Regions from separate parts of the Homo sapiens genome. Here region 2 is linked to region 1. The links are contacts of gene promoters, found by promoter capture Hi-C in human tissues and cell types (Jung and others, 2019). All regions are on one chromosome and are shown on one strand. Each heading gives the region's core, a stretch centred on a gene start or on the middle of the fragment in contact. The rest is flanking DNA. Distances are from core to core; before and after follow the strand shown.

Region 1 (7,100 bases), core at 1,204-3,703:
TGTACAGGAAGCATGGTGCTGGCATCTGCTCAGCTTCTGGGGAGGTCTCAGGAAGCTTCTAATCATGGCAGAAGGTGAAGGGGGAGCAGATACATCTTACATGGCAGGAGCGGAAGCAAGAGAGGGAAGGGAGGAGGTGCCACACACTTTCAAACAACCAGATCTTCAGACTCACTGTCCCGAGGACAGCACCAAGCCATGAGGGATCCACCCCATTGATCCAAACCCTCCCACTGGGCTCCACCTCCAACATTAGGGATTATAATTCAATAAGAGATTTGGCGAGGACAGATATCTAAAGTATATCAGTAGTGTTTACCACATGTGACATTATCATTTTATTTATTTTTAAATGTCGTGTCCATAATGAAATGTAAAATCCATAAAAGAAAGTACTTTGTTGTGTTAATTGCTCTATCTCCAGAACCTACAATAGTTCCTGGCACATAGTAGGCACTCAAGGGTAACCAGTAAAACAATAAATATACACTATATTTCTTCCTTTTCCAAGAATGTGGAGGGAGGGAGAAAACACTTTAAAATGCAATTCAAAAGATGTCATGAAAAGAGAGAGAGAGAGAGAGAGAAAAAGCACAGAAATAGAAAACAAATAAAAAGTACAAAATAAAATGTTAAAAATAAATCCATATAGGTTAGTAATAACAATAAATATAAATGACCTAAACTCACCAGTTAAAAACTAGAGATTTTAAAATTGTGTTTTAAAATAATTCAGTTATGTGCTATATTAAAGAGATACCTTTAAATTGCAGGACATAACATAGGAAGGCTGTAAAAGATGTAACAGGCAAATACAAAGCAAAGAATGTTGTTGTACTTATAGCAATAACAGACAAATTATACTTTAAGGCAAAAACAAACAAAACATGTACCATAATACCAACCACATAATGTTAAAGCAAAAAAAAAAAAAAAAAAAAAAAAAATCACCACAATATATTAAGATCATATGCGTATGCCAAAAATGTATAAAGAAATGACTAATAGACAACAAATTTAGGTTACTTGGAGATAGTGGGAGAGGTGGAGGTTGTGACTGGAAAATATATAAAAGTGACTTCAACTCTAGTGATAATATTTAAAAATTATTCTAAGCTAGATGGTGGGTGCATTGGTATTCAATGTAATTTTATCATATCTGTTTCATGTGAAAATAGTTCATAATTTAAAAACTCTCCCAAATCATATTACTACTAACTTTCAATGCAACAGAGCTGTCAAATACAACATGATACTTTGAAAGCCTGGGTCGGAGAGCGTCTCAGGGAAGAAAAGCAATACGGATTGGCAAGATCACCTGAGGAAGTTTCAAGGCATTCTCTCAGGTCGGGGCAGGTAAGAGCATTCTTGGCTTTAGCAGGATACCCAAATAGGCAAGTTGCTTACACTCAATTTTGTCTTCCAGAAAATGTGTGTGAATAGAACAATTCCCTTGCAAGGAACTCCCTAGCAATGAATGTAGATAAAATACATAGATGTTCAATGAACTGCATCAAGATTTATCTGGAAATGAGGCAGAACAGAGCTAGCAAGGTAGAAAAACAAGATCCTACTTCCTTAACTCCTCAAGGCAAAGAGCCCCTGCCCTCTTTGGTCTTTGGATTACCCATCCCCTCAGGCACTGCGTCCGCGCATAATGGACAGTCACCAGATGGTGAATGCTGGAAACGCATCGGTGTTTTTGAAAGTGAAAACAGACAAATCACCGCAAATAAAGGAATCAGTGTCAGCTCTCTAGCTGGGAACCACCAAGGTTACAAAGCTAACGTGACTGGCCCTGCTATACCGAAACGGCTTAATTTCTTTCTGGCAAATCCACATTTACGGCAGTAAGATACTAAACACTTTCTTTCACTTTAAAAATATTTCGTTTGTCACTGCTGCAGTTTATGTCCCTCAGATGAGTAATACAAGGCAAAAATGAAGTGAGGTTGGGTGGTGTGAACAGCCTTCCCCTTCCATGTCAGCCACGTCTATAGAGAAGCTCACGCGGCCCTTTCCCTTTGCACTTCTCTCCTCTGTAGCAGGCCGCGGGGTGAGGGTGGGATTAGGCGGCCAATTTTACAAAACTCCAGGGAGCGTCGCCAGCCTCGATTTCCTGGGGTTATTCCTGGGAGAGAGGCGTTCTCACGGACAGCCACCCTGGGGAGGAGGAGGAGGAAAGGCACTAATGGATGAGGAGGCCCGCGCACCCCTCCGCCTCCCACCCCGGCGCGCCCTGGAACGCCCTGGAGCGCGCCCGGCTTCCCTCGCCCGCCTGGCCCGCGGCATCCGGCAGCCCCGCCTTCAGCCCGCCGGGCAGGTCCGCACTCCGCAGAGGCGAGCGCGCTCCGGTTCCAGCCGGGAGGTGGGCGGCGACCCATCCCGCTAGAATCCGTCCAGTCTCTGCTCGCGCACCGTGACTTCTAAGGGGCGCGGATTTCAGCCGAGCTGTTTTCGCCTCTCAGTTGCAGCAGAGAAGCCCCTGGCACCCGACTCTATCCACCACCAGGAAGCCTCCCAAAAGAGCTCTCGCCCTGTGGACGACTCGGAATCCCTGGAAAAGCCGGGAGGGAGTCGGAGGCGCCAGCCCACTGGGGAGGTGGCGCTGGGCGCGCGGGATGCGCGGGGAGCCTTCTCTGCAGGAGCCGCACAGTGCACTGCTGCGCGCTGGGCAGTGCGGGGAAGCGCCGCGGGAAGGAGCGGCTCCGAGCAACAGGTGCAGCACGCAGCCCCTCCGGGAGCCAGGGAAAACCGCCGGCGAAGATCTGGAGCGGTAAGGCGGAGAGAAGGGTCTTTCCACCTGCGCGGCTGCAGCCGGCGGATCCCTCTTCCCAGGCTCCGTGGTCGCGCAGCGGGCGGAGGCGCCCGGGAAGGGGACCCCAGTGCTCTCGAGATCACCGTCCCTTCCCGAGAAGGTCCAGCTCCGGGCTCCCGAACCCACCCTCTCTCAGAAGGTCCCGGCGCAAAGACGGTGCCACCAGGCACGGCCACCGGATCCCCGCTCCCGCTGGCTCGCGCCTCGGGGGAAGCTCAGACTCCTAAACTCGCACTCTCCGTGCTTTGCGCCGGGACCCCTGGCCACCCCCGGCGCCTACTATCCCGCCCTCCCTCCCCGCGCGCCCCGCCGCTCGCCGGGACAGCCCCGCGGGCCATGGAGCTGGCGGTCGGGAACCTCAGCGAGGGCAACGCGAGCTGGCCGGAGCCCCCCGCCCCGGAGCCCGGGCCGCTGTTCGGCATCGGCGTGGAGAACTTCGTCACGCTGGTGGTGTTCGGCCTGATCTTCGCGCTGGGTGTGCTGGGCAACAGCCTAGTGATCACCGTGCTGGCGCGCAGCAAGCCGGGCAAGCCGCGGAGCACCACCAACCTGTTCATCCTCAACCTGAGCATCGCCGACCTGGCCTACCTGCTCTTCTGCATCCCCTTCCAGGCCACCGTGTACGCGCTGCCCACCTGGGTGCTGGGCGCCTTCATCTGCAAGTTCATCCACTACTTCTTCACCGTGTCCATGCTGGTGAGCATCTTCACCCTGGCCGCGATGTCCGTGGACCGCTACGTGGCCATCGTGCACTCGCGGCGCTCCTCCTCCCTCAGGGTGTCCCGCAACGCGCTGCTGGGCGTGGGCTGCATCTGGGCGCTGTCCATTGCCATGGCCTCGCCCGTGGCCTACCACCAGGGCCTCTTCCACCCGCGCGCCAGCAACCAGACCTTCTGCTGGGAGCAGTGGCCCGACCCTCGCCACAAGAAGGCCTACGTGGTGTGCACCTTCGTCTTCGGCTACCTGCTGCCGCTCCTGCTCATCTGCTTCTGCTATGCCAAGGTGCACGCCGGTCGCGGGGCCGAGACGCGCGAGGGAGGGCGGAGGGCCGGTGGGGGCCCTGGGGTCTCAGTGTCCCGCGGCCCTGCCGGAGCCTTGGCGGCAGCCTGGCCCCGGTGGTCCCCACTCTGGCGGCGCTGGTACGGATCTGTGCAGAGAGGCTTCCTGGCCGCTGCTGGAGCGTGCCATTGGCTTGCGCAAGAAAGTTACTTGGAGTCTGAGAGATGCTGGGGAAAGTTTGCAGTTCACTTCGCATGGTCCAGTAGAACCAGTTTCTCCTCCCCTCCCCTTCCTCGGCCCTGCGGCCCTTCAACGCCCCCAGGTTGCCTGGGCGGTAGGTAGGCGGGCGCTGCCGCATCCTTCCCGGTACAGCAAACCCCGCTCGGTTCCAGCAACTCTTCAACCAGATCAGCTGCGCGGGGAGGTTACCGCCGCGGCGCTGTGGGACCTGAGGAGAGCTCTGGTGGTCACCAGAGCGCGGACCTTTTGCGAGGGTGACGGGTCCCCACAGCTCCCTCCCGGGCTCTCAGCTGGCCGTGGCGGGGGGGACTCGCGGGGCGGCCCCTCTCCCCCGGGGTGCGCAGTTTGCCCTCGCTCCGAAGGCTTTGCGCACACCGGGCTCTGTGAAGCCGCTGCTCCCGGGGACAGAGCCTCGAATTTTATTTTATTCTGAAGCTTAGCTTTGTAAACCCAAGTGCAAAAGGGTGTTTCTTTACAGAGTCTTGACCGCAGGCTCCAGGAACTTGGAATGGAATGGACTCGAGCTTTCGGCTTCCCCATTTCAATCCTTTTTAGAAAGGTCTCCTGAACAGGGTGAAGTGGTTGAGGCGGCGGGTCTTCACCCTAACTGTAGCAGAGGCACCGTCCACGCGTGTGGGAGATAGTTTTTCCCTTTGTACAGCCGGGCAGAGCTCAGCACTCACATTCTTTTTCTCATTAAGTCCACAAGGGTTTGAAGACTTTATACTGATCAAAACGTCTTCAGCCTTTGACATACGTGTTTTTATTTGCGTAAACGGGAGCTTATTTTAATAATCAGGTGATGGCGATTCACCGGGTAAACCCTAATGTGCGCAACCTCCTCGCTCCAGAGCATCGCCATTTGAAATACAGCTGTTACCAGTTCCACCCGACTTCACCGCTGTCTCTCATTCTGTTTCAATAAGGCTGTGACTATACGACCACAAATAACCTGACTAGGTAGAACAACTATCACTTTTAATACTCAAGTCACAAGGTATTTTTATCAACAAAAGTGTTTACTATAAGCCACCTGTTTCCCCCCACCTATTTCATCTAGGTAGATTGTGTCTATTTTGAATAATAATATTGCTGGATATTATCTGAACGGCCTGCACCAAAAGGTTAAATATGAAGAAATACAGTACCACTTTGGGAGGCCGAGGTGGGTGGATCACCTGAGGTCGGGAATTCGAGACCAGCCTGACCAACAGGGTGAAACCCCGTCTCTACTAAAAATACAAATATTAGCTGGGTGTGGTGGCGGGCCCCTGTAGTCCCAGCTACTCCGGAGGCTGAGACAGAAGAATTGTTTGAACCCAAGTGACGGAGGGTGCAGTGAGCCGAAATCGTGCCACTGAACTCTAGCCTGGCTGACAACGGAGCGAGACTCTGTCTCAAAACACCACCACCACCACCACCACCACCATCACCACCACCACCATCACCACCACCACCACCACCACCACCATCACCACCACCACCACCACCACCACCATCACCACCATCACCACCACCATCACCACCATCACCACCATCACCACCACCACCACCACCACCACCACCACCACCATCACCACCATCACCACCACCACCACCACCACCAATATAGTAGCAGTAAGGGAATTTGGAAAAGAACTCTAGCTTAGCTATTTGGAAAATGGCTGGTTTATTAACGTGGTCTTCCGCAGATGCTAAACAAAGGCTATCTTACATAGCACAATTATCTGATATGTGCACCATCTCATTTAATTTGCACAACTCTGTGGCTTGGAGCTATTTTATTATTTACCCGTATTTTATTATTTAAGGAAAAAGAGCTTTGGAAAGGAACACCTGACCCAGATTATGAAGCTGGTGAATGATTCTGGAAGGATTTTAACACAGGGATTCCCAGTCTTCTGAGGACGGGACAGTTGGTGAGGCCTTGAGGACATTGAAGTCTGAGATTGAGATTCTTAACATATATGGCTGTTAAGTTCCTAATTACTGTGGAGAACTGAAGCACACGCTTCCTTATTTCCCCAAAGCCTTCAGGGAGAAGAGCTAAAATCTTCTTACTGGAAATGACAAAGTAAGATTTTAGGAGTAAATTGAATTCAGCATAATATTCATAATATTTGCAAGTTAATTTCAGGGCTGTCATGGATAGGTGGAGATTTCAGTTATTTCAAGTTGATTTTCTTTGGCTCAGGCATTAGGTGTGCACCATCCAGTTAAGGATTTTGCTACTTGAGTATTAGTTTCAGGATTAGCTGTTCCTCCAAACCCCAGGCCTTTTGGATAGCCTGAAAAAACACAGATGGCTAAAAGGGAACCTGAGGTTATGATGCTTTAAATAAACAAAAAAACTTAAGACAATTGCATTCCAGAGTTGCCTTTTGCCTCCAAATTCTCACAAGTTTGTAAGGGAGCAGTCTTTTGCACCAGACAGTTTCTGGGAAACTCATCGAATACATGGGTGGGAGGATGAGTCGAAGTGGTCTGCCCAGTGCCCCCTGAAGAGCCCTCCCCTCTGCTGCTATGGAGCTGTTCTTCACCAGGTCTGTGCCCCTCGCTCACTTCCCTTAGAGTGAATTACTGTCCAGAATCTCCTTGGTCTACCATGAGGATAAACTCAATGGGCCCACTCGACTAAGTTACTCCGAATCCCCAGGATGTAGCCAGCAGGACCTGGGTTTGGTTTGAGCTAGCACCTTCCTGTGCACACTCAGAAATTTACAGACTCACCAAGAGACCCCAGTATGTTATTATCACTCTCTTCTTAAACGTCGTCATACCCTATCATGGTACCTACATTCTTCCTCCTTTGCTGCTGAGACCTTCAGTGGGGTGCATCATAATATATCATTCTGTGCTCATAGTAGGAGCTATTGAAGAGAAGCAGAGCTAATAAAAATAGACTTGAGTATTTTCTCCATTGACCATTTAACAGCATTCAACATTCTTGGGTGTTTTGAAGTGGCTGAGCTGTGATCCGAATTCCTTTTTGGAAGGAACAATTGGAGCTCGGCAGCGTTATGAAGCTGGTCACATTTGGACA
Region 2 (6,342 bases), core at 3,843-6,342, 180 kb before region 1:
AGACGGAATAGACTCTTTGTGGCAATAAGATAGCAAATTATGGGCTGGGCGTGGTGGCTCATGCCTGTAATCCAGCACTTTGGGAGGCTGAGGCCCTCGTTCCATGTCCTTCTATGTTAAACCATCCCCCAAATGGTGTGAAGTCCCCAGAATGGCTGGCCCCGCCATTTCTCTATTTTGTTTTCTCTAACCTCCTGCCCTCTCTCTTCCACCTCCAGTATATGGCACGGCACATTGGAGGTGCTCAAAAATGATTTAATAAATGAATGGAGAAAGCACATAGGCAGGACATCCTAGTACCAATGATGAATGAGTGTTTATGGCAGATGTGACCCAGGTCCTCAGAGGCACATGAAAAATGCTAATGAACGGCAGCACTCATTATTCACTGTATGAACGTGGCTTCAAGCAGTAGAGATGTTAAAGCATCCTGTAATGGAGTATAACTGTTTTCTCTCTCTCTCCTTTTTTTTTTTTTTTTTTTTATGAGGCGGAGTTTTGCTCTTGTTGCCCAGGCTGGAGTGCAGTGGTGTGATCTCAGCTCACTGCAACCTCTGCCTCCTGGGTTCAAGGAATTCTGCCTCAGCCTTCCAAGTAGCCAGGATTACAGGTGTGCACTACTACATCCAGCTAATTTTGTATTTTTTGGTAGAGATGTGGTTTCCCCGTGTTGGTCAGGCTGGTCTCGAACTCCTGGCCTCAGGTGATCCACCTGCCTCAGCCTCCCAAAGTGCTGGGATTATAGGCATGAGCCATCATACCCGGCCAAATTGTTCTCTCAATGGGCCCTTGCAACAATTCTTGAGGGTCAATAGGAAACCCTGTTTTCTGGAGGAGGAAACAGGCACAGAGAGATGAAGTCGCACCCCCAGTTGCATTGAGAGTTGATGGCAGAGCCAATGGTCACACCTGCCTGTTTCCCAGGTGGAGTCTGTCTTCTCTTGAGGCTGCCGCTGACCCTCAATGGAACACAGGCACGCAGTGCCTCAGCAACCAGCCGCTCAGAACTCCTCCTGGGCCTTTCTCAGAGCCTGGGACCTGGAACTTTGTGCTATGAAATGCCTATCAAAGTCCTGGCTCTGGGAAGGGACCCCAAGTTCTTGTAATTCTGTCTGTGGATCATAGCAGGTCCTCTGATGGCTAGACACAGGGATCATAGGCTCTTGGCTTGCAATGCGGAAGATTCATGTTGCACCACTGGCCCTTACTGAATTCTATTACAATAAATAACTATACAAAACTAATCTCCACATGTGCTATAAAAATACCTTGAGGTCGTTGACTACCATGTGACTCTTTGTCTGTGATAAAAATTTAAGCAGGAAAAATTCTTAGTATTTGTTAAACAAAGCTCTGTATGCTTCAAAAAATGTCTGCAGTCTTCTCTCTGAAAATACTAGCCAATGTTTACTGAGTACTGTGAGGAGATGGGAGAGTCCCACACGTGCACATGTGTTGTTTCTTACTCACAGGTCATTTTATGATTACCCCTACTTACGTATGGGGAAACCAAGACACAAACAGAGGAGTTCATTGCTAAAAGCACACAGCTAAAAGGTGGTAGGGCTCTACCACCTGCTGTGTAAAATGAGAGACTTCAGGCTGGCCGGGGTCCCCTTCCACTTGGGCAGCTGGGCAGCTCAGAGTGAAACGGGCGGCTCCCTGCAGCCATTGTCACATGGTTGATGTGTTTGTGGTCTTCCTTCACTTCATCTAGACTTCTCAATTTTATTTACATTTTACTGTTTCCTGGTGTTTTTTCCTACTGTCAGCTAACTCAAGCTTTATAAAATAAAGAAGAGTGAAAACACGCACACACCAATATATGTACTTAAATGTTTCTGGGATGAATACTTTTTAAATAAACATTAAACACAGATATTTCTATCTCCATTGTCTGAGCAATGAAGTTGTGAATGTTTTCCTCATGACTCTTCATGGGGGTTTGCCCTTACATGCTGTGCACACAGGACTTGGCCCTGTGAAGTGGACGCAGTGAACACAGACGCGGGCTGGTGACGTTTTCACGGTAGGACATCCATCCTCTGTGGCACATGTGGAGTGAACTAGCTTACACATGACACGGAGTCCACATCCCTCCAGCCCTGTCTTTGAGATGCCTGTCCTGGCTGAGAGGAACCACAGTCAGTCACCGGGGCAGTAGTGCCCTCTTTTGGCCACTCCTCTCCTCCCTTAGTATAATTTAGGGAGACCTAAGACTTCGCTCACCTCAACTGAATTGCCTGCCTTTAGTTTAGCCCCACGATTAGTCAACTCTGGCGGGAGAAGAGGTGGAGACTGACTCCTGCCTTCCTTCCCGCCTGGTTTCTAAGGAGGAGGACAGTGTGTGCACTACCTGTGGGTGTGTGGGTCAGAAAACGCTTAGCAGCAACTGGTCTACTGAAAAATGGCCTGCTTCCCCAAAGCTTGGACAACGCCCAGTTCTCTAGGTTGTCGTGCCTTAGAGTGTTTTCTTCCTCCTTTTGTAACTAGGCAAAACAGTCTTAAGCATAACCAGAAAGCTGTCGAAAAAAAAAAAACAAATCACAGAAGATATTTGAAAGTGTGCTCTAACGAGTTATTTACTTAGATTGAAAACAATCCTTTGGTGAGATTTTTACCAGAACATGAAGGGCAAATAAAACTTCAAAGTGGATTGCTAAGAGAATGACTGGCTTTGGCCTTCACAGAGACGAGGAGGAAGGCTGCGTGGTTTTAGTTGTCTGTTTGTGGTTTTGAGCACTCAATGTGTGAACCATAGCAATAGCACCTGTGCCAGAGTCAGCACCTGGCACAAACTTCTCAATGCGCCAATCAGTCTTAACTCGGGGACTCTCTTATCAGCTGAAATACAACACTATTGCCTTTCGACGTTCACAGAGATCTTAGGTATGCGTGTCCTGCAGAGTGGTTAGCTAAGGATGATGGCTTTCTGCCCATTTCTCACATTCCTCGCTCATTCTTCTGATGCGTGGATGAAACGGCTGCCAAGAACCTAGAGATGACCATCACACGATCACGGTGACTTGTGCTCACGGGACATCAGGAATGGTTTCCCAACGTACTGATGGGATTTACTATCATGTCAAGGAAAGACCTTTTCCTAAAGTAGGTGGGAGCTGCTGCTCTCATTTAGAGTCACTTTATACATTACAATTTTAAAAGAAATTGCATATATGCCTCCAAGGTTATACAGCCAAGACTAATAGCCAAGATTATTTTAGTTTCTTTTCCTTCAGCACTCTGCGCCTTTAGAGTAGAGTTCTGTGTGCCCCAGGAAAGGGTCAGGCATGGGAAATTATTAAGGTCAATAGCAAAAGCCCCACAGTTCAACAGGCCCTTCCAGGTCGGCATCACTTGGGATTGTTGCTGCTAAATAATGCGTGCAGAGGCCTCCTGGGCCAGCCTCCCCTAGGGTGGATGAAATGAGGATGCCTGGACCACAAGCTCCTCCCACTTCCCCCTTGGTTTTGACTCAACCTGAATCAGGCATCAGCTGCAAAGGCCTGAAGGTGACTCTTGAGAACTGCTTCCTCGGCACACTCACGGGCAGAAAGGCTTGGAATGTGGGAGCTAAGTTCATTCGGCAGATATGCGAGCCTTGCTCCGGTGTCCAAGGACCTGGGAACACCTCAGTAAACACAACAGGCAGAAGTATTGCTCTTCCTATCAAAACACAACCCACGTTTGTGAAATGATGGAAATATTCTGCATTTCCATCATTTCCAGTAGTTTTCACATTCAATCCTAGGTAATAACTCTCTAAACTCAGTATCTCTTGGAAAAGATTAAGGAGGGCTGCGTTTGGAAGGGCTTCAGGAATGATATCATCTTGATAGCGTAAGGAAAGGGCTAAGTATAGAAGACCTTTTTATGTTATATTGTATCCATGCTGTATATATACCTATACATATGTGTGTGTGTGTGTGTGTGTGTGTGTATGTGTGTATTTGATGGTAACAGAACCGCTGCCATCGTTACGAATAATCTCAAAAGCAATTAGCTAGGGGAATAATGATAAAGATGATGTTTGCTTAAAAAAACAGTAGGCTTAGCCAAAATCATTCTAGAACTCACTTTTATTTATGTGTAAAACCTAAATTTGGACATTTGTCTTCGTGCTTTTCTATTACGTCTTTATATATGTAGCTGAAATGTATGAGTAAAGAGATCATCTAAATGAATTTTTATTCTAGAGTTTTATAGGCAGATTTATTCTTAAAACCATCAAGGCTGGGACATCCCATTCAAACTCATAGATTGTCTATTCTACGAAACCCTAAGTGTTCTCCAGAGTGCACGCTGCTGCTCCTAGTCATGGACGCGGCTGCCTTCAACTCCTTCCTCTTCTTCCTCTGCCACTGAGGATGGAAACCCCAGTACCTGAAGGCGGTGAGTTATGCTCAGACATGCCTCCAAGAAAATTCCTATAAAGAGCATAATAAAGTATGCAGAAATCAGCAGAGCACTGAGTCCCTTTTGCACTTGCCTATCTCCTTTCTAGTAAAGGAGTCCTCATTGCTTTCAGTCTCTGGGCCTTTGAGTTATGTTGATTTTCATGGACGCTTAAGATATTGAAACAGTCGGTAGCACTAAATCTGTTTTATGTGTGTTTGCTCAAGAAGGATGGAATTGTAGAAAAGAAAGGACTTTTGAAAAAGAGCAAGTTAATCACGAACAAAAAAAATCGGCATAAATTATCTTGTCTAACAGCTGAAATATAAAGAAAGGCCTTTCCATAAATAAGCAAAGATCATGCTAGGGAATGTGGCCAGGAAGCCTGTTTGCCTTGAATGTTGTCTGTAACCTACAGGGTGGCCTGATCTTGGGGAAAGGGATGCGTATTTTAGTAGCCACAAAATCACTCCTTTTTCCTTCGACCTATAGTGAGTTCTCAGGATCTGAGCACATTTCATTCCACCCCTTTTCCTCTTTGCTTTAGGAATAGATGAAGAAAATCAAAGAGCTGTGCACAGCAGAATAGAACTGCTTTGAGGACCTGCATAGCCCTGTGGTCTTGGGCAAGTCACTGAGCCTCAGTGTCATGATGGGACGAGTGGATCCAACCTCATTAATGTAAACCTCAAATGAGAACATGGTCAGTCACTCATAGGGGAAGCAGAAACAAAGATGAATGCTAAGATTATATCTTGGTTCATTTTCTATTGCTATAACTGAATACCTGAGACTGGATAATTTATAAAGAAAATAAATTTATTCCTTACAGTTCTTGAGGCTGGAAAGTCCCAGGGCATGGCACTGGCATCTGCTCAGCTTCTGGTGAGTGTGCCATGACGTGGTGGGTGGCATCGCATGGTGACACAGATTAAGAGTTGGCTCAGGCCTCTCTTCCTCTCCTTACAAAGCCACTGGTCTCATCAGGGGCCCCACCCCAATGACCTGATGACTAGGTCTCTGCTCCTAGTTACATCCCAAAGGCCCCACGTCCAATTAACATAGAAATTTAGGGGGTTAAGCTTCCAACACACGAAATGTAGGGGACACATTCAATCCACAAAAATATGTAAAGGCAATTTATATTCAATAAGGCAATACAAAAAAGTAAAATTCTGAAGACAACAGTTATTTCCCAATGCCTTCTGAGTCACTCTTTGTGGTTAAGATAAACACCGTGGTATCCAGGCTTTGGTGCAATTTCATTTCCTCATTAGCTATTTTTTACAAACACTGCTAGGCTTCCCGATGCTCACACAGGGCTGGACAAACAGACGATCAGAGAAACACCATACAGTGAGCCTGGGAAATGCTGAATGTCTATGTGTGCAACAAGGCATGCGAGCAAAAACAAAACCGAGATGGGAAGGGATTGCAGGAGGGGAGGAAGGGGCTGTATCTGCCACGTATCTACACAGCCGACATTTTAATTTTTTTTAGACAGCGTCTTGCTCTGTTGCCCAGCCTGGAGTGCAGTGGAGCAATCATAGCTCACTGCAGCCTCGACCTCCTGGGCCCAAGTGATCCTCTCACTTCAGCCTCCCAAGTATCTGGGGCCACGGGTGCATGCCACCACACCTGGCTAATTTATTTATTTTATTTTTTGTAGAGACGAGGTCTCATTGTGTTGCCCGGGCTGGTCTTGAGCTCCTGGGCTCAAGCGATCCTCTTGCATAGACCCCATGAAGTGTGCGATTACAGACATGAAGCAATGATCCCAGCCTCTATGTTTTAGTAATGAGTACAGACAGATCCATGGATCACCCATGCAATAAAAAAATCAAAGGCTTCCCCGAGTGAGAGTGCAGGTGCACGCTGTCACCATGTGGCGCCATGTTGCCGATATCTGCGTCACCTACCGAACACTTCGTTGTCCTCTGAGGTTGT

Evidence for each region. Contacts are between HindIII fragments. The study calls those that stand out against the background at their distance.
Region 2: a fragment that was not itself captured here is called in contact with the fragment with the promoter of GALR1 in region 1 in 2 of the 25 tissues and cell types used here (H1 embryonic stem cells and mesendoderm cells).

Annotation. Positions count from the first base shown.
Region 1 is chr18:77,247,395-77,254,494 of GRCh38, forward strand. It overlaps GALR1 (galanin receptor 1), which reads left to right and starts at 2,454. Exons shown (of 3, transcript NM_001480.4): 1 at 2,454-3,820. The coding sequence starts at 3,155. LOC124904329 (a long non-coding RNA gene) reads right to left here and starts at 4,057. Exons shown (of 2, transcript XR_007066422.1): 1 at 3,454-4,057; 2 at 315-2,163. RefSeq lists enhancers at 2,090-2,761, 3,433-4,104. The HindIII fragment of the contact is 7,211 bases long and covers 1-6,958 here.
Region 2 is chr18:77,059,984-77,066,325 of GRCh38, forward strand. MBP (myelin basic protein) reads right to left here. Exons shown (of 9, transcript NM_001025101.2): 3 at 6,315-6,342. Among named protein-coding and RNA genes, the nearest start is that of MBP, 70 kb to the right of the region's middle. RefSeq lists enhancers at 3,231-3,320, 4,736-5,935. The HindIII fragment of the contact is 5,976 bases long and covers 2,105-6,342 here.